2 separate regions of the Homo sapiens genome follow, and region 1 is linked to region 2. The links are contacts of gene promoters, found by promoter capture Hi-C in blood cells and fetal thymus (Javierre and others, 2016). All regions are on one chromosome and are shown on one strand. The core of a region is centred on a gene start or on the middle of the fragment in contact, and the rest is flanking DNA. Distances in the headings are between cores, read along the strand shown. Region 1 has its middle 28 kb from the start of GABRA5. Region 2 holds the start of MAGEL2 (MAGE family member L2).

Region 1 (5,636 bases), core at 778-3,277, 3.2 Mb before region 2:
ACGGGGACTCTTTCTCACCTGGTTCTGCTGAAGATGCTGTCAGCCCCAACGGTCACCTCGGCTACCCTACTTGCTTGCTTTGCTTTCACCACTGTACCCTCAGACATAAAAGGAACAAACAAACAATAATCAATAAACCTATGTTGCAACCATATTTTTGCTGCTAGACTTTCTCTGTTCTTTTTTGGGTCTGTCTTGGTAAGATTTATTTTTGTCCGAAAGTGATCATTTTATCTACATTGTCAAAGAATATTAGAACAAAGATTTTCACAATATCCTCTTATTATTTTTGTGATTTGTGTAGTGGTGCTCATGTTTTATTCCTAATATTGATTAAGTGTGTTTTTTTTTTTTCATTCTTGTTGGAATTTCACCAGGGATGTCATTATTTTTTGTCTTTTCAAAGAACTGAATTTTGGCTCTATTATCTTTGTTATAGGTGTGTTTTCTTTTTCTTTAATCTCTGCTGTTTTATTTATTCATTATTCTTGTCTTCTATTTTTTGAGAATTTGGTTTTCTTTGCCTGCCTTCCAGGAGTCTTTGGACATCTTTTCTCTTCCAAAATAAGCATCTATGGCTATAAACTTTTTCCAAATAATTTTTAGTTGTATTCCACAAGTTCAAAGTAGTTTTAAAAATATAGTTCATTTTGGATTTTTAAAAATCCTTATTTCTTCTTTGATCTATGGGTTGATTACCTAGCAAATGGCAATTTTGTGTTTATCTTTTTCCATTGGTTTTGAAATTAATTGCATTATGTTTAAGGAAAGTAGTACACTACTTTCTCCTTTTGAAATTTATTGAGACAGGCTGTACAATGGAATAACATTTGTAAATATTCCACCCGACCTTGCAGAGAGCATGTATTTCACATTTATTGGATAGAGTGTTCAATATGTGTTCATAAGGTCAATTTTGTGAATCATAGCGCTCAAGTTTTCTATAGCTTCACGAATATTTTGTCTATTATTAATAGATATGTGTACTGAAATTCTTACATTGTTATTGTAGATTAATCTGCTTTCCCTCATATTCCATAAATGTTTTCTTTAAAAGTTTAAAAGAATACATTGGTATATGAAAACAAATTTCAAACAGTTTATCTTTTCAGTAAATTGGATAATTTTTTTATTCTAAAATATCCATTTGATTTCCAGTAATTATTTTGCCTTAAAGTCTACTTAAAGTAGAAGTCTACTTTGATTGCCTTAAAGTCTGCAGCCACATCAGTTTCCTTTAGGGTAATTATTTCTAGTATATATCTCTGCATTCTCTATTTTTAATCTTTCTATTGAGTCGGATCATAGTTGAAATAGACATTTTTGTAAGTAAACATGAGTCACAAGCAATGTATCCTGTGGTAGATGTGTCTCTTGTAAACCATGTGGCTGGATTTTGCTGTTTGAAAAATATCCAGCCAATCTGAGAATTGTTTTAAATGGATTATATATTTTATTCATATTTATTGACAATTTTTCAATTTAATTTTGAACCATATATGAAATCACCATTTTTATGTATTTCTGTTGAAGTTACCCTCCTTGTCTTTTAGTACTATTTAGAATGCTGTCTCCAAAGCAAAAGGGCAAGAAAGGAAAGAAAGGGCATGTGTGTTTTCATCTTCAAGTGCTGTCATTATATACAGAGAAAGCCCAAACACTGCAATAAATACTAGAAATTGTTTTTAACAGTTTACAAAGGTGGCTGGCTACTTAATCCACATGTGTTCTAAGTGAAGCCTTACAAATCATCAAGAAGCATGTAAAAATACAAAGATAATCTCTTTCACATTAAACACAGTTGACAAAACACCTTAGAGTAAATGTAAGTACACTAAGGTTTTAATGAATAGAATCACAAAAAGTCATTGAAAGATGTAAAAAAGAGTTGAATAAAAGGTTAAGAGTGAAAATATCTGGCTGGAGAAACCCATTGAACATACGTCAGTTTCCATAGGTTTTACGTTACCGTGTCCAAATGTGGGAGCAAGCACTAAATTATAGAATTATTAGTACCGTTATAGCTCGGTCTGCTTTCATCTCTAATGTATGCACACTGCAATGAAGGATAGCATATATCAAACAGCACGTTACTTAACAGGGGGAAAGACCTGCTTTTAATTTTTTGTGCATTGCACAGGCTTACTTTGAAGCATTAACATTGGAGCTTTCACATATGTGTCTGTTTTTATACATTGCTTTGATATTCGACATTTATTATAACAAAACATAAAAAATAAAAAGGAAGGTGAAGGAGAAATGAACACATACGGAAAAACTGTCCTTTTGGAGAATGAATGAAAGTTGCAAATTTTCACCTTCTTTTGATTGTAATTAACTGACATTCAAAGGGTCTGAGCTAGGGCTCAGTCCTAGTCTCCGCCCGCTGGGTTCCGCTGAGCCCTAACTCGCCCTTCTACAGCCTCCTACACCTCTCCAAGCCCCATCTCTCTTCCTTGGAGAATCCAAGCGTGATCTTTACAAAAACAAAACAAACAAAAGAAATCCCATCAGCCCCAGCTCAATGGGTCCTCCTCACACTTAGAATAAAATGACAGTGACACCTGAGAGCCCCACAGGCCCTACATAATCTAGCCCCTGTCTCCACTCCGTCCTCCGTGCTCTCCCGCTCCATCTCACCCCTCTGCGCCGTTTCCACGAAGGTAGAGTCGCAGTTTTCTGAAGGAGGCTGGAGGGGTGACCTGGCCTCCTCGGAAGGGCAGGGCGAGCTCCTCTTCGCCCTCTTGTGGCCATGAGGAGAACTGTCCGATCGTGGCCAAGACGCCGCAGTGGGTGATGGAAGGACGCCAGAGCTGCCAATAAAGAGAGTGGGGCCGCCGGGCTCCAGTGTTCCTGCAGAGTGACCCAAGAACTCCTTAAGTACCAGCAAAAGAGCTGAACGACGAGACGTGGGCATCAGAGAACATATATCACACATTTAAAAATCTAGATAATGCAAAATAGATGAAGACGTTTGAGTGATGAAACAGTAGAAGCAGCAAACACCTGGCTGCCTAGAGAGGGAAACCTTGGAGAAGCTGACTGCCGGGTGCATCCCAGAGGGGGACTGCCAGGTGCATCCCAGAGCGGGAGAAACACCAGGCAAGATTGCTAACCGGGACAGAAACCAGGAGGTTAGTTATGTCTATGAGGAAGCCACGCAAGAGACTCCATAGCCAGACTTGCGCATAGAGGTAATGTGTATAACCCACAACCAGACCTGTGCACAGTGGCAAAACTTGGCAGGACCATTCTCAGGAAAATGGACAAATGAACATGGTCATAACTGGAATATCAGAAGGAGAAGTGGAAAGAATGGAACAAAGGAAATAATGGACAAGTTATTTACAAAATAAATGAAAGACACCAAAGTACAGATCTAAGTTCAGAGAACATCAAGCAAGAAAAAACAGAAACAAACAAACAACTAGGCATATTAGAGCCAAAGTGATACATGTGTAAGACTAAGAGAAAATCTTCAAGGCAGCTGGAGGAAAAAAATATACACTATTAGGTTGGTGCAAAAGTCATTGCAGTTTTTGCATTATTTTCAAATGGCAAAAACCGCAATGACTTTTATACTAGTATAATATGATATATTCAAAGGAACAAAGATAAGCATTACGGCTGACTTCAGAATCCATGCAGCTAAGAGACAACAGAGTGACACTGTTAAAGTGCTAGAAGAAGGAAAGGAAGCAAAACCCCCTATTGTGATTCAGTGAAAGTATCATTAAAAATGAAGTGGGTATAAAGACTTTGTTGGACAAAAAAAATTGTAAGAATTTATTACCAGCAGTTCTCCTGAAGAAAATTTAAGGAAGGTCTTCAGGAAGAGAAAGATGATACCAGATAGAAGTTAATATACACAAAGGAATAAAGAACACTAAAATGTAATCAGTGAAGGTAAAAATAAAATTATTTATTACATTCTTTTCCTATTCAAATTGTTCTAAAAGATTACTGACTGCCTAAATCAAAAGAAGGAAAAATGCATATTGTATGATTATAGCCTATGAAAAAGTAAAATTTACAATAACACAAAGGATATGAGAAATAAATTGGGAAAATACTGTACATTTTTTCACTGTTTATAAAGTGGTATGATATATGAAGAGAACATATGAATAATTAAAATGTATATGGAAAACTCTGTGGTAAGCTATAAAAATGGAAAAGATAAAAAAGTCAATAGAGAAGATTAAATGAGTAACAAAATGCTCAAGTAACCCAAGAAAAGGTAAAACAAGAGGGAAAAACAAAAATGAGTTGGAAGAGATAGAAAAAAATACTAGTAAGAGGGACATACATAAAGGGGGAATATGTCTCCAGGAAGACACACAATCCAAAATGTTTATGTACCTAGCAGTAGAGCTACAAAATACATGGAGCAAAAACTGATGGGATTAAAGAGGAAATGTACACATACATAATTATACTTGAGACTTCAACATTCCTCTTTCAGTAACTGACAGTGAAACCAACCCAATAGTCCCACAGACTGTCCATTTTGAATACACATAGAAATGTATCCTTTTGGTCTTAAAGCTTGAAAGTTATATTTGCTTTATCTGCGTTCCTTCCCCAGGAAAGGACCTTCTGGCCTCTTAAAAAAAGTATCAAAGAACTGAAACTCACCATATCAGTCTTCTCAAAAAAGTATAAAAGAACAGAAACACACCAGATCACCACATCAGATGCCAGGACCCTCATTTACCATGATTGCGTCTTTGCCACTCCCTAGGTTTTTTCTTACACATGGTTACATTTCTTCACTGCTATACAAACCCCTAGTTTTATTTGGTCAGGGAGATGGATTTGAGACTGAGCTTACATCTCCTCGGCTGCAGCACCCAATTAAAGCCTTCTTCCTTGGCAATCCTTGTTGTCTCAGTGATTGGCTTTCTGTGCGGTGGGCAGCAGGACCTAGATGGAACCTCTGGTGTTTCAGAAATAATAGAACAGTAGGCTGAAAACTGGTAAGGATCTAGCTAACCTCAACAATACTATCCAACAACTTGACTGAATCAGTGTATATAGAACACTATAGTCAACAATAGCAAGCATGTGGATATTACAACTTCTCTGCAGACATTAAAAAGATAACAAAGAAATGATAGCAACAACTCTATGCCCATCAATTCACAAAATTAGATGAAACCTAAAAATGATTTGAATGATACAGGCTATCAAAACTTGCTCAAAGGGAAGTATGTAAATGAATAGTTCTATGTCAATTAGATAAGTTGAATTGATAGCTCAAAACCTTCAATAAAAAAATTCCAAGCCCAAATGTTTTCATTGACAGATCCTATAAACGTTTAAGGAAGAAATAATACTAACTTTATTATACTTTCTCCAGTAAATAGAAAAGAGAACACTTCACAGTCACATTTTCAGCCAGAATTGCCCTAATAACAATATCAGATAATTATATCAAAAGAAAACTACAGTTCAATATCCCAAAAAACCACTAATACAAATAATCCTTGACAAAATAATAGCAAATCAAATTCAGAAACATATAAAAAACTTACATCACAATCATGTTCTTATCTCAATGATGGAAGCCTAGTTCGATATTTAAATATCAATCAATGTAGTTTACTGTACAACAGACTAAGAAGGAAGTCAAA
Region 2 (6,287 bases), core at 2,887-5,386:
AATTTTTCTACTTAGACTGTCTATCTGGATCACATGAATCTTTCACAGCCTCAGGTTTGTTTTCTTTCTTTTCACTGCTACAATCAGCATCACAGCTCCCCTCACCCCATGTTCCAAGCAGAAGTGAGTATTTGATTATTTTCATCCTCTATGACCAATATGAGGTTTAAACAATGCGACAACACCTTATTGTACTAAAAAACCATATGAATATCCCTATATGACTAACAATAGATTCGTGAAATGTCCCTATGTGACTAACGATAGATTAGATTAATGTCCCTATGTGACTAACAATAGATGTAAATAGGACTTGCATCAGATTTTTCTCTGTAGTCTTATCTATAGCACAGTGCTGGGCATATAGTGAATGCTTAATAAAAGGTATTTCATAAATAAGTAATTTTAGAGTTTATGAAAATCATAACTGATTTTGTTACTCACTTATGAATATTTACACAAAGTCTAACAGCTACAGAAGATTGGAAGACAGGCAGTTCTGGTGCTAATCTTACCATTTCATTTTGTAGCTCCTTAGTGACCACTCAATGCGAGCTGGGGATACCAAGGTGAGCAAAACAGGCTCCCGTCTGCTCCTAGTTCCGCAATTTTCCTACTCCCATCACAATACTTCAGTTCTCCCTTCCCTGTTTTTAAAAATCATTTTGTATACTGCTGTTATATACTGACGTAAGCCATTAAAAGTCCTTTCTAATTAGGGAACAGAGGCCAACATTTCATGGATGTTTTGTATGTTTTTCCCTTTTGTTTTCTACTCACCTTGAATTTTCAAGCTGTTTCATATAAAAGTGAGGAAAGGGAATTTTGACAACACTTGGTTCAAAGGTGTTGAGGAGGAAGAACATATGCACAGAAAGGGAAAGAGGGCTTCAGGAAGCAGGAAGGTTTCACAGGAGTGATTTGGGAAGACCCAACACTTGTGGTCTAATGCCTCACTAGACTCAGGGCAATATTATGTTTTGCTGTGATTAAGGCAGTCAGTTTTCAAAAACGACCCGTATGTCCCTGTTTCCTCAGGTGAATTTTGCTCACAAGTAATTTGTAAATAGCTAGGGAGAGCCCCAGGAACAGCCTGGGTCTGAGAGCACTGACTATCTGAAATAAGCAGATGTTTCTTCCAGGGAGAATAAACTGGGTTTACCCTCTTTACTTGTTCCTATAGAATCAATGGATACATAATCTCTGATTTTTCCCTGCCGGTTAAAGAATGTTTCCAAGCAGTGGCAATAGTGCTGGTGTAGAAGTTATTCATCTTCCATTTCTAACTACTCCTACGCACCTGTTTTTTCCTTTGTATAATGCCTAATCTTTTCTTTCTGGCTTTGGTGTTGCCTCTTAACATAAACCGGACCTCTTTTCATAGAACAGATTCGGTGGGAGTTGACACTGTATGTCAGTGCTATTCACTGACCTCCAACATCAGTGAGAATAGCCAGACCCTAGTGGGAGCCATTCATTGTGTGGGATGACCAACAGCATGGTGGACGGCAGGACAAACCTGTCATAATTCCCGAAAATAAACGGTTAGTGGGAGAACTTAATCTCTGTGTAGTTTATACATTTGCATTAGAGTGGAAAAAAAGTATGCTTTAGAAATGCCCTAGGCTAAAAAATAAACTGATTTTTCCAAAGCCATCCATAGCCAGTAACAGCCATGTAGCAGAGTTGATAATAGCAGGTCCTGAGGGTTAGGCATTTAGAGTTTGTCCTTCTACAGTGTTTCCAAACCCCCATGAAACTGAGAAATCCTGTGTGGATCTGGGCCATTAACCCAAGGGAGAAACGAAAACCATGAAACACGGTAGTATCCATTCTGCAGAAGCTTTTTGTGTGCTGTGGTAGATGGCCTTCTCTGGGGATACACAGGAGTGATGTCCAGTAGTCCACCCTTATCCTTGGGGGATATATTCTGAGACCCCCCTGTGGAGGCCTGAAACTGGAAATAGTACTGAATCCTATATGTACTACGATGTTTTCAACTGATAGCCGAGACAGCTACTAAGTGAATAACAGGCGGGTAGCATATACAGCATGGATACACTAGACAAAGGGATAATTCATGCCCCAGGCAGGACGAAACAGAACAATTTCATAATACTACTCAGAATGGCATGCAATCTAAAGCTTATAAATTATTTCTGGAAATTTCCATTTAATTTTTTGGACTGCATTTGATTGCAGGTAACTGAAACCACACAATGTGAAACTGCAGGCACAGGAGTGCTACTGTATTCGCTACCTGCTCATTAACCACTTAGTAGCTGCTTCAGATATCAGATCTACCATCGGTTTCCCAGTGTTTGTGTTCAAGGAACCCTTGTTTTACTTAGTAATAGCCCCAAAATGTAAGAATAGTGATCCTGGCAATTTAGGTATGCCAAACGGAAGCTATGAAGTGCTTCCTTGAAGGAAAAAGGTGAAAGTTCTTGACTTAATAAGGAAAGAAAAAATCGCATGCTGAGATTGCTAAGATATATGGCAAAAACAAAACTATCTGTGAAATTGTGAAGAAGGAGAATGAAAGGGATACATGGTATATATAAGGTTTGGTGCTGTCTCCAGGTTCGGGCATCGAGAGTTTTGGAATGTATCCCCTGCAGGTAAGGTGGGGGGGGCTACTGTATCATCAAGCACCCTTAAAAATCTGACTGTTTTGAAAAGAGTTTCCTGGGAATAACAACATCCCTTAAGTGTCCAGAAAATCACTGAAACTTTACCCCCAAATTCTTCTATTATTGTTTAAGGCAATAATAACATTGGGAGTGTGTACATACCTTCTCTTGGGTCCATAAATTACCAAATTTGAGGACCCCTGGCTAAGGGTACCTGGGAAGGAGTGGGGTGTACCCTTCATCGTCCTCATCTGCCCCCTGGTGGCACGTTTTGTCACTCTGGACTCCTGCCGTAGGCTGCCAACAGCCTATTTAAACGAAACATCCTTGATATTTAGTGCTTTGTATATTTCCAGAAAGCTTTTCAATTACTGAGATTATCACTTCCTCTCACCATAAAGTTGTATAGCATTGCCCAATAATACTATTGTCATCTGCTTTATCTGTTAATACTTGATTTGTCTCATATTTAAACTGATTTTTGTCACGAGAAGTTTCCCCAGAAATTTTTTTATTCTTTGCCTGTTTTTCCTATATATCCAAATATATCAATTTTTGATCTATTTATATACCCATTTTGTTATCTTCAGGTGCGTTATTTGGTTTTCATTTTTTAAATTTCTTTCCCATTCTGCAGATGAAAAATACTGAGAAACCTACTCTGTTCCTGCATCCGAGCCATTCCACAGGCAGTTTTCCCATACTAAAAATGCTGTCTTCCACTGATGTGTGGCATGTCTCAGTTCCGTGACTTCTTTTCCTCTCTCTCTACTCGCTGCTGTCCCTTTTCTCCATGTGTCTCTAACATGCCTGTGTTCTTCAAGACCCAGTGCAACCACATTCCCTCCCACAACTCTATTTTCATGAGGAATAGCCAAGCAGGACTCCCAAGACATCATACAGGAGTGCCTACAGGGTATCTCTCCTTGGCAGTCCCACAGCACCGCAAATGCCCTGTGTCTGCCAATACTCATCAGCCTCTCTTCCCGTGTGCCTCTCCTGGGACCCTAAGAGAGTAACAGTCCCTGCAACTTCCCACTTTCTCCAGGCAGGGACTTGTGTGCCTTTTCCATGTCTTTGACTCCTTTATTCAATTATAATACAGGTATCTGTCTGCTATAACTCCTGGAACTCTCTTATGTAAATGCGCTTTTTTCATTCTCCGCCTCACATCTTAGCCCAGACCACACCATCTCCCCCCGCCGTCTTGGATACCTTCCATGTTTCCAGTGGTCTGCTCCCACTCCACACTGCAGTACAGTGATTTTTCTAAAACATGGATGGGTTCCTGTCACTCCCCTGTGAAAAGTCATCCATGTGGAGTCTGACTGGTCTGCATTTGGGGACTGGACAGAGTGAGAAGGGATCCTGTGTCAGCCAGGACTCCGGTAGACGCCCCTATGCAATATCCACTTGTGGTGGTCGGGGGCGGGGAAGGGGCGGGATTGAGCCCCCTTCCCCCCTCCTCCTTACTGCGGAAAGCTGCGGAGCGAGCAGCACTCACTTCCTATTCAGCATTCAGCAGGGAGGGAGCCTCTGAACAGCCACGTAGGCATTCTCTTCTCTCTGGAGGAAAAGGCCCAGCAGCTGTCCGAGGAAAAGACCCACCAGCTGTCAGCAAAGGGACATGTCGCAGCTAAGTAAGAATCTGGGTGACTCGAGTCCTCCGGCGGAGGCCCCGAAGCCGCCTGTCTATAGCCGCCCTACGGTTCTGATGCGGGCCCCGCCCGCTTCCTCCCGGGCTCCGCCAGTCCCTTGGGATCCACCTCCAATTGACTTGCAGGCTTCATTGGCCGCTTGGCAGGCACCTCAGCCTGCCTGGGAGGCCCCACAGGGCCAGCTGCCCGCCCCGGTGGTTCCGATGACCCAGCCTCCTGCCCTAGGGGGCCCGATAGTCCCGGCTCCCCCGCTGGGGGGCCCGATGGGTAAGCCTCCGACTCCCGGGGTCCTGATGGTGCATCCTCCACCTCCGGGAGCCCCGATGGCCCAGCCTCCGACCCCGGGAGTCCTGATGGTGCATCCTTCAGCTCCCGGAGCTCCCATGGCCCATCCTCCTCCTCCGGGGACCCCAATGTCCCACCCTCCCCCTCCGGGGACCCCAATGGCCCATCCTCCTCCTCCGGGGACCCCGATGGCCCATCCTCCTCCTCCGGGGACCCCGATGGTGCATCCTCCTCCTCCGGGGACCCCGATGGCTCATCCTCCCCCTCCGGGGACACCGATGGCTCATCCTCCCCCTCCGGGGACACCGATGGCTCATCCTCCACCTCCGGGGACACCGATGGCTCATCCTCCCCCTCCGGGTACACCGATGGCCCAGCCTCCAGCTCCGGGAGTCCTGATGGCCCAGCCTCTGACTCCGGGAGTCCTGATGGTCCAGCCTGCTGCTCCGGGAGCACCGATGGTCCAGCCGCCTCCAGCAGCCATGATGACCCAGCCTCAGCCTTCAGGAGCACCGATGGCCAAGCCTCCAGGTCCAGGAGTCCTGATGATTCATCCTCCAGGTGCGAGAGCTCCGATGACCCAGCCTCCAGCTTCAGGAGCACCGATGGCACAGCCGGCGGCCCCACCTGCACAGCCGATGGCCCCACCTGCACAGCCGATGGCTTCTTGGGCCCCGCAGGCTCAGCCTCTGATCCTGCAAATCCAGTCTCAAGTTATAAGGGCTCCTCCGCAGGTTCCCCAGGGCCCGCAGGCACCCCCAGCGCAGCTAGCCACACCCCCGGGCTGGCAGGCGACCTCGCCAGGATGGCAGGCCACGCAGCAAGGCTGGCAGGCCACTCCCCTGACTTGGCAGACCACGCAGGTCACCTGGCAGGCACCAGCCGTTACCTGGCAGGTGCCGCCGCCCATGCGCCAGGGGCCCCCGCCCATCCGCCCTGGCCCACCACCCATCCGCCCTGGCCCACCACCGGTGCGACAGGCCCCACCGCTGATCCGCCAGGCCCCACCGGTGATCCGCCAGGCCCCACCCGTGATCCGCCAGGCCCCACCCGTGATCCGCCAGGCCCCCGCTGTGATCCGCCAGGCCCCACCTGTGATCCGCCAGGCCCCACCTGTGATCCGCCAGGCTCCACCTGTGATCCGCCAGGCCCCGCCGCTGATCCGCCAGGCGCCGCCGCCCATCCGACCTGCCCCACAGGTCCTGGCCACCCAGCCACCGCTCTGGCAGGCCCTGCCACCCCCACCTCCACTGCGGCAGGCCCCGCAGGCTAGGCTGCCGGCCCCGCAGGTGCAGGCGGCGCCGCAGGTGCCTACGGCCCCACCTGCTACGCAGGTACCCGCGGCGCCGCCCGCTGGCCCGCAGGTGCCCCAGCCTGTGCTGCCGGCCCCGCTGTCTGCCCCACTGTCTGCCCCGCAGGCTGTGCACTGCCCTTCCATCATCTGGCAGGCCCCCAAAGGTCAGCCCCCGGTGCCACACGAGATTCCAACGTCAATGGAATTCCAGGAGGTGCAGCAGACACAGGCGCTGGCCTGGCAGGCCCAGAAGGCCCCCACTCACATCTGGCAGCCCCTGCCTGCCCAGGAGGCCCAGAGGCAGGCTCCCCCCTTGGTCCAGCTGGAGCAGCCCTTTCAGGGAGCCCCGCCCTCCCAAAAAGCCGTGCAAATCCAGCTACCCCCCCAGCAGGCCCAGGCATCGGGTCCGCAAGCGGA

Evidence for each region. Contacts are between HindIII fragments. The CHiCAGO score rates a contact against its expected background, and 5 or more counts as called.
Region 1: a fragment that was not itself captured here is called in contact with the fragment with the promoter of MAGEL2 in region 2 in 2 of 17 cell types (M0 macrophages and endothelial precursors); the score reaches 7.9 in M0 macrophages.

What each region holds. Positions count from the first base shown.
Region 1 is chr15:26,836,050-26,841,685 of GRCh38, reverse strand. No RefSeq gene overlaps it. Among named protein-coding and RNA genes, the nearest start is that of GABRA5, 28 kb to the left of the region's middle. The HindIII fragment of the contact is 5,046 bases long and covers 1-4,550 here.
Region 2 is chr15:23,645,716-23,652,002 of GRCh38, reverse strand. It overlaps MAGEL2 (MAGE family member L2), which reads left to right and starts at 4,136. Exons shown (of 1, transcript NM_019066.5): 1 at 4,136-6,287. The coding sequence starts at 4,261. RefSeq lists an enhancer at 4,849-5,693. The HindIII fragment of the contact is 5,160 bases long and covers 2,996-6,287 here.